3 separate regions of the Homo sapiens genome follow, and all the other regions are linked to region 1. The links are contacts of gene promoters, found by promoter capture Hi-C in human tissues and cell types (Jung and others, 2019). All regions are on one chromosome and are shown on one strand. The core of a region is centred on a gene start or on the middle of the fragment in contact, and the rest is flanking DNA. Distances in the headings are between cores, read along the strand shown.

Evidence for each region. Contacts are between HindIII fragments. The study calls those that stand out against the background at their distance.
Region 2: a contact is called between a fragment that was not itself captured here and the fragment with the promoter of UPK3A in region 1, in 2 of the 25 tissues and cell types used here (spleen and stomach).
Region 3: a fragment that was not itself captured here is called in contact with the fragment with the promoter of UPK3A in region 1 in 1 of the 25 tissues and cell types used here (ovary).

What each region holds. Positions count from the first base shown.
Region 1 is chr22:45,283,351-45,287,453 of GRCh38, forward strand. UPK3A (uroplakin 3A) reads left to right here and starts at 1,599. Exons shown (of 6, transcript NM_006953.4): 1 at 1,599-1,715; 2 at 2,591-2,746; 3 at 3,822-4,101. The coding sequence starts at 1,664. RefSeq lists a silencer at 1,420-1,729. The HindIII fragment of the contact is 20,192 bases long and covers 1-4,103 here.
Region 2 is chr22:45,316,506-45,320,138 of GRCh38, forward strand. All of the region lies in intron 1 of FAM118A (family with sequence similarity 118 member A), which reads left to right. Among named protein-coding and RNA genes, the nearest start is that of FAM118A, 8.4 kb to the left of the region's middle. RefSeq lists enhancers at 1,977-2,026, 2,077-2,146. The HindIII fragment of the contact is 9,677 bases long and covers 1-3,633 here.
Region 3 is chr22:45,336,066-45,340,054 of GRCh38, forward strand. FAM118A (family with sequence similarity 118 member A) reads left to right here. Exons shown (of 9, transcript NM_017911.4): 8 at 263-346. Among named protein-coding and RNA genes, the nearest start is that of FAM118A, 28 kb to the left of the region's middle. The HindIII fragment of the contact is 3,238 bases long and covers 1-3,210 here.

The DNA of each region.
Region 1 (4,103 bases), core at 349-2,848:
GCTTGCAGTGAGCCGAGATCACGCCACTGCACTCCAGCCTGGGTGACAGAGCAAGACTCCGTCCCCCCCAAAAAAAAAAAGAAAAAAAAGATTTTTAGGGAACAAGACATACATTAATCCAGAGATACCAACTTTACCAAATGATGAAATGGAACATCCCCAATAATGGGACACACTGACCTCATGTGCTTCCTTCCTCCATTCCAAATCTCCCTCATCCTACAGTGAGAATCTGGGTTCTGGTACCACCAATCCTAGGATAACCCAAAGTTGCTTCGGAATGGCTCCGCCCTCCCCACTGCCAATAACAAAGTCACTAGTGAGGTTTGGGGTTCTGTCACAGGCCTCCCAGTTCTTAGAGTGTACTCCACTAAGGAGGTACCCCTGGACAACCCAGCTCTATAATTACTCAGATCGTTTTATTCTTTTTCTGCAAGTGAGGTTATGTCATCAACGTCATACAGAGATTAATTAGTTTCTGTTGATTTTCTTTATCTTTTTTCTAAGAGACAGGGTCTGGCTCTGTTATTGCAGCTTTAATCATAGCTCAAAGTGGCATGATCATAGTTCACTGTAGCCTCGACCTCCTGGGCTCAAGCAATCCTGGGACTACAGGCATGCCCCACTAGGCTGAGCTAATTTTTTTTTTTTTTTTTTTGGTAGAGATGGGGTCTCACTATGATGCCCAGGATGGTCTCTAGCTCCTGGCCTCAAGGGATCCTCCTATCTTGACCTCCCAAAGTGTTGGGATTACAGGCATGAGCCTCCTTGCCCCTCTTCTGTTGTTTTTTTCCTATCCTTGTTGACTTACTTTTATTTCTTAAATGTAAAATTGATTTAAGGTGCATCCAGAGATGTGCACAGATTCTTGTGATGGAGGGAACCGCACAGTCATGGTGAGGAGTCCATCATAATTTTCAAACGCCCCTTTAAGAAGTAGGCATTAACACCCTGCTCCATCCCTTTGGAGGCAGCCCTGGGCTGAGCACTGGACTCCTGGGTTCCACCAGCCTCAGTGTCTCCAGGAGACCAAGCGCGGCCGGGGGTGAGTCCCTGTCCCCGCGCCCCCCACCACGCTCCAATACTTACCCCCTGCCCCACCCCCCAGCCTCCCGGGCCTTGGCTTGTACCTGTGAACCGAAGGGGTCATACTAGGCGTCATACTAGGGTCTCTGGATAGCTCCCAGGCCTGGACTTCGTTTTCCAGGATATCACCTTTACTGGTCAACCCATTTTGTTTCGCGAGTGCCCAGTGAGTGTTTGGCACGTAATAGAGCCTCCATAAATAGTTGTAGAAATTAGCGTCATTTTACAGTATGGAAACTGAGGCTCCAAGTGGGAGTGGCTTGCCCTCAAGGTCCCATTGGTGAGAGACGCTGTGGAAGGGCTGCCCTGGCCTGGGCACACAGTAGGCGCTTTGATGCGGGCTGGAGAAGGTCCTGCCCGGTGGGATTGCGCCCTGGGGCACCGCGCACGGGTCGGGGAAGCCCGGGGCAGGGCCGTATGCAAATAGCGCGCGAGGAGGCCGCGGATTGGCCAGCCCAGGCGGGGGCGGGGCGCGCCGAGGGCCCAGAGCTGGCAGGTGCCCTGGCAGGGACAGGTCTGGTGCCCGCGCCTGCTCGCTGGACCGCCCGCCCCGCGCTCTGGCGGCTCCTCCCGGGCGATGCCTCCGCTCTGGGCCCTGCTGGCCCTCGGCTGCCTGCGGTTCGGCTCGGGTAGGCGGTGAAGGGCAGGAGGGGGCTGAGCCCAGAAAGAGCGGGCAGCTCTGCCCTGGGGCGCCCGCCGCCTGGACCCTGATTCCTGGCGCTGGGGACCCAGATATTACTGTTATGAATAATAGTGATAGCCAACGTTTACGGGCCTCCTCTGTTGGGAATCCGAGGGCTCACAGATGGCTGCAGCCCTGCGATGTGTGTTGCAAGAGACCAACATGCAGGGGGGCTGCGGTAGGACAGAGAAGGGACTAGCCCCAGCCCCATGGTGACGCCTGGACGGGGGCAGATAGAGAGATATTTCGGCCGAGGAAGCAGCATGGGCAAGTTCATGGAGGGGAGACAATATTGGGCTGTCCTGGGAACTGCCAGTCCATGGGACCAGCTGGAGCCTGGGGTGAGGGGAGCCTGTGGGGGAAGGGGTGAGGCTGGAGACCGAACAAAGCAAAGCCCAGAACTTCAGGACCTCACTGCCTTTCCAGAGAGGCTGGACTTCGTCAGGGGGCGCTGGGGGACCATGGGAGGGCCATAGCCAGAGAATGAGGCAGTCAGACTTGCATGTGGGGGGAGGGCCCAGGTGAGGAAGGTGGGACGGAGGAGGGCTGGGCCGATGGCATGGAGAGATGCTTAGGAGGGGCAGTGGAGTTCTTGGCAACTGAGTGTCTGCAGCAGGGAGAGAAGGCAGCAGTTTGGCCCGACCGCTCCATTTCTGAGCAGGATGACTGGGCAGGGGGCAGTGTCTGAGACAGCTTATGCGGTGGCCCAGGGGGAGGGTGAAGCCCAGGGCCTGGCACACAACACGTGCTCAGTAACTGCAAGCAGAGTGGGTGTGGACAGTTCTGCCGGAGGTCAGTTCCCATCCTCACTGCCTCCTCCAGCTGTGAACCTGCAGCCCCAACTGGCCAGTGTGACTTTCGCCACCAACAACCCCACACTTACCACTGTGGCCTTGGAAAAGCCTCTCTGCATGTTTGACAGCAAAGAGGCCCTCACTGGCACCCACGAGGTCTACCTGTATGTCCTGGTCGACTCAGGTAAGGGTCCTGCTTCCCTCTGGCTACTCCAAAAGGGGCTCTGACCTGTCTGCAGGGAGGAGGGAAGGAGGCAGATAGAGGAACCCTCCATGCCTGTAGTCGTCTCATTAAACAGGTACTGCAGCCACAGACCTGTCCTTGCCTTGCAGGGACATCCAGTTAGTGAGGGAAGTAATAACACCACCAGTCACTGAACACCTACACCATACCAGGCACTTTGCACACCATAGAGCTAGTATCTACAACCAGCTTGTAAGGTAGCTATTACCAATCCCCATTACAGAGCAGGGAAGCAAGGCTCAGAGAGGTGGAATAACCCCCCCTGGACCTCCCAGGGCTGGAGAGTGAATCCTGATCTCTCTAGTCCCCAAGCCCAAGGTCCTTCCTGAGGCTTCGAAAGGTGGCTCAAGATTGGTGTTTCTGAGACAAAACCATGCATTTGGACCTGCTGCTGTGGCCCAGCCCCAACCCCTGCCCTGGAGGGGATCCTGAGCTTCTGAGACAAGCCAACATCAACTCTTGCATTTCTAGCAGCCAGTCATTTACAACAGCTCATTCGGGACCATCCTTTTCTTCTTTCAGCATGTGTTTATTGACTATAAACTAAAGTGCCTGATCTCCGGGCACTGTAGGGAATTTCTCTCCCATTTCATAGAAGACTAGGGTCTGAAGAGGTAGAGTGAGTTGTCCAAGGTCACCCATCTAGTAAGGAGGAGAGCTGGGTCCTGCCTCCACGTTATTTCCCTTGGACCGATGACCTTCCTTTCCCATTTTACACAAGAGAGAATCCAGGGCTTTCAGCAATGAAGAGACAAAGGTCTGTTGGGATGGGGGGTTGCAGGAATGTCACAAGATAAGGCGAGAGTCAGACACAGCGCCCAAAGCAGGGAGGTGATCCTTGTCCATCTCCCACATTGCACTGAGAGGGCAGAGACTAAGTTTGCCCCATGCCTGTGATGCCAGTGCCCAGCACAGAGCTGGGGCAGAAAGGATGATCAGGCATTTGATGAATAACTGAGTGAGTGTCGCTGAGCCGGAGTGGCCAGAAGCCTGACTCCCTGCACCGCCTCTGCAGCCATTTCCAGGAATGCCTCAGTGCAAGACAGCACCAACACCCCACTGGGCTCAACGTTCCTACAAACAGAGGGTGGGAGGACAGGTCCCTACAAAGCTGTGGCCTTTGACCTGATCCCCTGCAGTGACCTGCCCAGCCTGGATGCCATTGGGGATGTGTCCAAGGCCTCACAGATCCTGAATGCCTACCTGGTCAGGGTGGGTGCCAACGGGACCTGCCTGTGGGATCCCAACTTCCAGGGCCTCTGTAACGCACCCCTGTCGGCAGCCACGGAGTACAGGT
Region 2 (3,633 bases), core at 934-3,433, 34 kb after region 1:
GTCTTGCTGAGGGTCATGCTGGGAAGGGCTTGCTTGAAGGCTCCCGGTCTTCCAGAGCTGCCTTGGTGTAGTCAGAATGCAGTGGATAGATTCTGGCCTCCTTTAAGGACATTCCAGTCCTCAAGATCCACCCTGGCTACACTGATTAAATTTAGTATTTCCCAGCCTCTTGTCTCCTGTCAGTAGCACATTTATAAATGCTTTCTTAGTGTGAGGCGCTTTTGTCACAGTGGCAGTGGTAATATTGGTACTAATAGCCTACTGTGTTGCCGGGCTTTGCTCTAAGGGCTCAACATAAATCAACTCCTTTGTAGTCACAGTGACCTTGTCTGACTTTGCAAATTCTGGGGTCATTTTATGATCACTGTGGATTGACTACAGGTGAGTTAAAGGTGAGCATTCGGAAACTTTGCCGAGTAAATGTGACACCACTCACTCCTGTGTGAGATGGATGTAGTTTGAGCTTATGTTTACTCTGAGTCCCTCTTGCTTCATTGTAATCAGATGCTGCTTGGACACCCTTATCTCCTTGCTTTTTGAAACTGCTCAAAGCCCATGTGATCATCTATTTATAGAAAGAAATTAAGAAAGTTGGGCACAGTGGCTCACACCTGTAATCCCAGCACTTTGGGAAGCTGAGGCAAGTGGATTGCTTGAGGTCAGGAGTTCGAGACCAGCCTCTGACCAACATGGTGAAACCTGTCTCTACTGAAAAACCACAAACTTATCCAGGTTTAGTGGCGTGTGCCTGTAATCCCAGCTACTTGGAAGGCTGAGGCAGGAGAATTGCTTGAACCCGGGAGGCGGAGGTTGCACCAAGCCGAGATTGCGCCATTGCACTCTAGCCTAGGCAACAAGAGTGAAACTCACTCTCAAAACACACAGAAAAGGTTTTCTTAAAGGATACTTTTGAGGATCCCAGAATCTGGACACTTCCAGTTGATGGTTTGTGCTTGTTAAGTGAACATATAGCTTGTAATGGAAAGCGAGTAATTTAAGGTTTTTTTGTTACACCACTTTTAATCATTACAGTTCTTGACACACATTCCCCTCTCCCCACAGAGCCTCGTGATGTTCGTTCATTCGTCCATCTGCTCTGTTTTCCTTGGCACTCTGGGCTTCTCCCTGTCCCGCCAGGGTTTAAACAGCCACAGCCTATTTGCTAGCTCAGCGCCAGGCCCAGGTCCCGGCCCAGCAGGTTCTTATGCCAGGCTCGCTGGGGCCACTCATGCAGTTGTGGCCCAAGGCAGCCTTGCTCTTGTGTGGGTGGATGGTACCTCGGCTGCCCACCAAGTGGCAGGCCAGAGCTCTGCAGGGCAGAATTCCACCGGGACAGGCTCTGTCGTAAAGGGTGTGTCGGACTTGTACTTGCTTCCCGTTATCCCATTTGCCGATATCTCAGTGGCCAAAAAGTCACATGGCTAAGCCTGGAGTCTGTGAGGGGCTGTAGAAGGGTGTGGCTGCCAGCAGGCATGAGGGGCGGGGCCATTAACATCCTACCACGGTAGGGTTGTGAGGTACTTTGTTTTACTACCTGTAAATAACAAGTTCGATTTTGGTAGCTTGTATTTTGCATTGAACTCCGTTTGATGAACGTTTACGTAGTGCTGGATGCCAGGGTTTGAAGAATAAGACAGTCTCTAGCTACTCTATGCTAGTTTATAAAATGCTAGTGATCTTAAGTTCTAAGCAGACAGCATCCTGGTAAGAGTTTGGCTTTGGATTAAAAAAGACAGGAACTGCTTATAAGAATCTCTGCTGGGGCCAGATTTTGCTTTCAGAAATGCTGATAGGTCCTTGAAAAAAAAGAAGGGTTGCTATGATGACTTGGCTCTGGGCCCACACACCGTGGTGACGACATAGTCACTAAGGAAACCGAGAGATGCAGCGTCTGAAAGGCCTCCGAAGGGTTTTGTTACTGTTTTCTGGGATCTGATTGGCTTAGACGGTGTTTGGATGGGAGCAGAACGCTGGAGCTTGCTGTCCTGCTGAAACTTCTAGGACCTGGTGCCGAGTGCTTTTGAGATCACCTTACTTGGATTTTGGTTTAAAAACAAGGGGGAGATTTAGGGTAATTTCTAGATTATTGTGAGATTTGACTCTGATGTTTAGGCTGCTGTAAAACAGGAAATGAGGTAATGTCTTTAAACATGTAGTGTGATAATGAACTGTAAATGTCTAAATATGGGCAACTGTGCAGTTCAAGTTGCAGAGTTGCTGTGTTGAGTTTTTATATAATTGGGTACTTTCCGTGTTGGCTCCTTTGATCCTTAAAAGTATGCATCAGTATTAAAGTCTAGAGGCCCATCTGCCTATTGAGGTTGGACTCCGTGTGGTTGTGTTTGAAATACTGTCTGAGGAGCCAGCACCAGACCTGCAGTTCAGGCTGAGAAAGAGGTTTTGAGCACTTAAGCGAGCCACAGACCACCCAGGAGTGCGAGCTGTGGCCTGTTACGTAAGTGTTAGGAATAGTGTGATACCTCGTTCTTTTGAGAAACTTTGAAATCACTTAATTTCGGAGTTAAATATAGCCTGCAAAAGTTTAATTTGTTCATACTGTTTTTGAAGATGTGTAAATGCAGTATTTAGGATTTGAATTTGTAACCATAATCACTTATATGTGGAGAATCGAAAGCAATTGAACAGTGGTTGAAAGAACTAGAGGTAGATTTTGAAAGTTCTTTACTGTGGTAACAGTTTTAGGCATGTGGTTTTTTTACGTCACTGGTTGACCAGTGCGTGTTTAAAAAATAGTCTAAAATGTCGTGTACAGACGGCTGAACTAAACAAGCCCTTCTCATAGACAGGGAGGAGTAACTATTTGGAAGTGATGTGGATTATTTTGGGGGGCGGGAGTAGGGGGCACTTGAATTAGCCAGCTGATGAGCCCTCTTATCGTCCCCTTCCAAATAGGATTGAACAGGAGTGGCTCCCAAGTCCTGCCCCACAGCAGGAGGCCGGGAGTGTGCAGGCCGCCTCATCCACAGGCCAGAGCCTGAGCTGTTGGACTCAGCAGTTCCAGCTGCCAGAGCACTTTCATACAGAGGCCTGAGCTTTCAAAACTCGGCCCATTGGCAAGAATCCATGTTTTATGGTTAATAAAACTGAGGATTGGTGAACAGTTAAATCAGTCATTGAAATCTCAGGGGTGGGGTCCAGAGTTGCTTATATTATTAATAGATGGTGGAGGGATTATATTATACAGCGGAGAAACTCAACTTCTGTTACTTTCCTTAGAAAGTATCTAGTAGATTAAAAAAACAAAAGATTAGTTTGATGACTGATGTTAACTCCTCAATGGGAAGAAGGATGTGTTAGGGCCAAGCCCCAGCCCGGACTCTGCCAGTCTTTCCCTGGGGCAGGTTACAGGCATCTGTGAGCCTCGTTTTCTTTGCCTGTGGACTGTGATTTCTTAGCATTTGGGGTAAGGTCGCAGACATGTTTGGGAGTTGATGGAAGCTGTGAACTCTCCCTAGGAAAATATATGCATGGACTTAGGTAGTTGTTTACATTTTCAAAGGATAACGGGGATCCCATTTAGCTCTGCGATCTAATGATGCTTATGGACTGATTAAGCCTTGTTTCCTTACCCTGGAAAATTACTTTTGATGACCTGATTCTAGTGGCTGGGTG
Region 3 (3,989 bases), core at 342-2,841, 53 kb after region 1:
GAAGTATGAAACCGCCGCAGTCGGCTCCCCGTTGCCACCTATTCCCATGCGAAAGGACATCTTCATTACACTTGCTTTCTCACTGAAATGCGACTCCTGGAAGCATGGCTCTCTTTGGAGAGAAGCCGTAGCGTGGTTGATGTCATCTCTAGTGGATGGCAGGGTCTGCTTGGCCAGTGCTTCAGTAAGGTCACATTATGAACTGTGCCTTGGCGAGTGGATTCTGAATAAACAAGCTTCTTAATAAATTCTTCTCTTTTAGGTAATGCATGCCAGGACTGTGCAAAGAGGAAGTTAGAAGAGAATGGAATTGAAGTTTCAAAAAAACGCACACAATCAGATACTGGTATTGTGTCTGTTCTTTTTGTGGGGAGCTGCCTCGGGTCTCTCTTGTTGGCAGGCATCTTCAGGGACCGTGCTGCGCTTTAATGCCCCGCGCCCTATGGTGGGAGGACGGTGCATACGTTCTGTCAGGGCCAGAGAGCACAGGAGGCTTACTTAGCAGAGACCCTGACCTCTCACCCCAACCCGATTCCAACTGCCCAGAGCTACTGGTACCTCTTTAGAAAAATGTTACGGAGAAAACATACACTAAGAAGGTGCAGCGGGCAGAAGGTGCTCTCTCCAAAAAGAAAAGTTAAAAAGATGAATAAAAAGTGCACAAGTTACATAAGGTCAGCTCCGCATTTTTGCGAAGTGAACGCTCCCATCTAATCACACGCAGTTGAGGAAGCAGCATTGCCAGGACACCCCTTGTCACTGTCCAGCCTCCTCCAGCCCCCAAGGGTGACCACTAGCCTGATGCATGTCACCTGAGTCTCTGGAGAAAAGCACTTTAACTCATTTGAGCTTTGTTGCCTCTGTTACAGACTAAGATTTATTTAAGTGATTGAACTATTTATCTAAACAGTGTATTTGAATAGGCCTCTCTGTTGACGCTATGAAGGGCGATCTCGCTTGTTCGTGCCGGTCCCTCCCTCTCCTCCCCTCCTCCTCCTCCCAGGTTTGCGTAGTGCTGTGTGTTATTTCTCATTCTTTAAATAACATACTTAAGCCAGACTTCCCCACACGAAGCCTGGGCTGGATGGGCCCCCACATGCGTATCCCACCCCCTAGCCCGCTGGCTTCCCCGTTTTGTCGGTCTCCGTGGTGACAGGACAGAAAGGAAACGAGACCCCCAGTCTGTCTGTAGGTTGATTGTAAAAGTTGGCAAACAAAAGCATTTCCGTGATGAAAACAGCGTCAGTGTTCTTTCCTGCTTAGCCAGCATGTGTGTTGTGTCTGTGGGCCCAGTGCCACGCCGCCTGTGCCAGCTGCGGATGTGTCCTCAATGTCAGGGTCAAATGTGGCTTGTTCTTATATTCCATTCTCCCATTTTTTATTGTTTAATATTGGGGCTTGAAGACATTTGTGTTACTTCTTACTTTTTGAGGAGTTTTTAGGTTCTTCTTTCCCCTTTGTGTTCCAAAAACTAACGTTTCCCAATATTCTTAAATGTATGCACTCCCTCAGCTTTCAGAACTGAATAAGAAATTTTTTTTTAAAAAAAGTATGCATTCTCTTCATCCTGCCACCCCACATCTCCCAGGACACCTTCTCCTGGTCGGCTCCGCTGGGGACTGCTACCTCCTGAGCTCCCCTCCTTCTCTCTGAGATGGAGGCCTAGGTCTCCCTTGCTCTGGCCCCCCATCCATCCTGCTAGTACCTCCTGAGGCCGCTTCTGCAGACCCCAGTGTGGGGTCGCCTCCTGAGGGCCATGTGTCTGCAGGTGTCTGTGCCATCCTCATGCTCGCGGGAGTTTTGGCATGGGATTCTCCGTTGTGATTCCCCCGGACTCCACTGTCTGAAGACCAGGTTTCCTATGAAGAGGGTCTGATGGGAACCTGTTCCCAGTGATTTGAAGGTACCCGTTGCTTTTTTTCCTGGGAGTTTTTAGGATCCTCTTTTCCCTTGATTAGAAATTCAATGAGGATGTATTTAGGTGGAAAACTTTTTTACCTGCCTTACTCACATGTTCTTTTTCCTCTTCCATTTCTCCAGTTCTGGAATGGTCTGTGATTCTCTTTATTTCTTCTTTCCATCTTCTCTGTTCTCCCTTTCTGGAAGTCATACTAGTTGGGATTGCCTGGATTGATTTCCACCGTCTTTTAAGTTTTCTCTGATGTCTTTTTTTTTATTTTTTGAGACAGAGTCTTGCTCTGTTGCCCAGGCTGGAGTGCAGTGGCGCGATCTCGGCTCACCACAACCTCCGCTTCTTGGATTCAAGCTGTTTTCCTGCCTCAGCCTCCTGAGCAGCTGGGACTACAGTCGCACACCACCATGCCCGACTAATTTTGTACTTTTAGTAGAGATGGGGTTTCACTATGTTGGCCAGGCTGGTCTCAAACTCCTGACCTTGTGATCCACCCACTTTGGCTTCCCAAACTGCTGGGATTATAGGCGTGAGCCACTGCGCCCGGCCAAGCTCTTGTTTTCTTAGTTACCTTTTCTCAGAGCATCTGCTGTTGTAAGTCTGCGAGAACTCTGGAGACAGAAGTCAACCTGGTTATCTGACTCTACTACATTCCTGAAAACATTGAGAGAGGATTTTCATATAATAGGAGTTTATATTTAGTACTTTATATAAGTAAGCCAAAGTAAAACACTCTTAAATACCTATATAGCAGTCCACCCAAAATTTCTGAGAGCTACGAAGCATCCAGCTTATCAGTTACCTCTTCATTTAACATTTAAATCCTTCAGTGGGTATGCTGGAGCAGTATCATGTCCCTGCACGTTCCTTCAACACCACAGGGACCATGTGCAATAGTCCATGTTATAAAGATTCTTAGTGAGTGCAAATTTAGTCAAGTAAAATAAGGCAGTTCTAAAAGGGCCACCTGCAGAGTGAATTATAGCACAAGCGAGGGCTGGTGGCAGGGGGTGGGGGCGCCCTAGCGTCCTGCCGTCCAGGGGCAGGGAAGATGAGAGTGAGCTGATGTGGCAGTCCTTGTGGGAGAGCTGTGAGGGGCAGCTGTCACAGACTCGACATCCTCTCATTTAGTTTTATACAACTTTGGCTGGGCTTAGTGGTTCACGCCTATATTACCAGCACTTTGGGAGGCTGAGGCAGGTGAATCACCTGAGGCCAGGTCAGCCTGGCCAACATGGCGAAACCCCGTCTCTACTAAAAATACAAAAATTAACTGGGTGTGGTGGCGGGCGCCTACTGTAGTCCCAGCTACTCAGGAGGCTGAGGCAGGAGAATTGCTTGAACCCAGGAGGCGGAGGTTGCAGTGAGCCGAGATCACACCATTGTACTCCAGCCTGGGCGACAGAGCAAGACTCCGTTTCAAAAAAGATAAAATAATAATAATAGTTTTATACAACTTCAAATGCACTTGGGGGCACACATGTTTTAGAGAATTCGATTTTGATATTGTTTTGGATCAAACTGTTTGAAATCTTTTTGCAAATATTTGGATTGTGAGTTCAGCTAGTAGAACCATCATATAAGTAAAAACAAAACACAAAACTGGTGTTCTGTGAACTGTTTCCTCCGGGGTAGGTGGTTCTTTTCCACTACTTTCTTTCACGTTCATTGTTTTGTTTTCTGCATATCTGGGCTCCTCCAGTGCCTGCTGACAAGAACGAAGGCCCGGGCGATTATTCTCAATAGATTGGCTTTCTTCTGCTGTTGCTGCTGTTGTGTGTACATAGATTTTGTCCCCCCGTGGCCTACCTCTGACTGGTGTGCACATCGCGGGTAGGGCCTACTGCCTGGTAGACCTTGCTGTGGAGCATTGGGCAGGGGTTTTCTTCAATACCTGTGAGATCTGTGCTCCTAGACGCCATCACCTGCACCTGCAGCCCCGGCTCTCCCCACCCAGTCATGTCTCCTTAGGGCGAAGCTCCTGGCCTCTGTTGTACAGAAAGCCCTGGCCTGTCCTGCATGTGGGTGAGAGAAGCCAAGCCTGGGGATCCCAGAGGAATCGACAGGCTTATTCTTC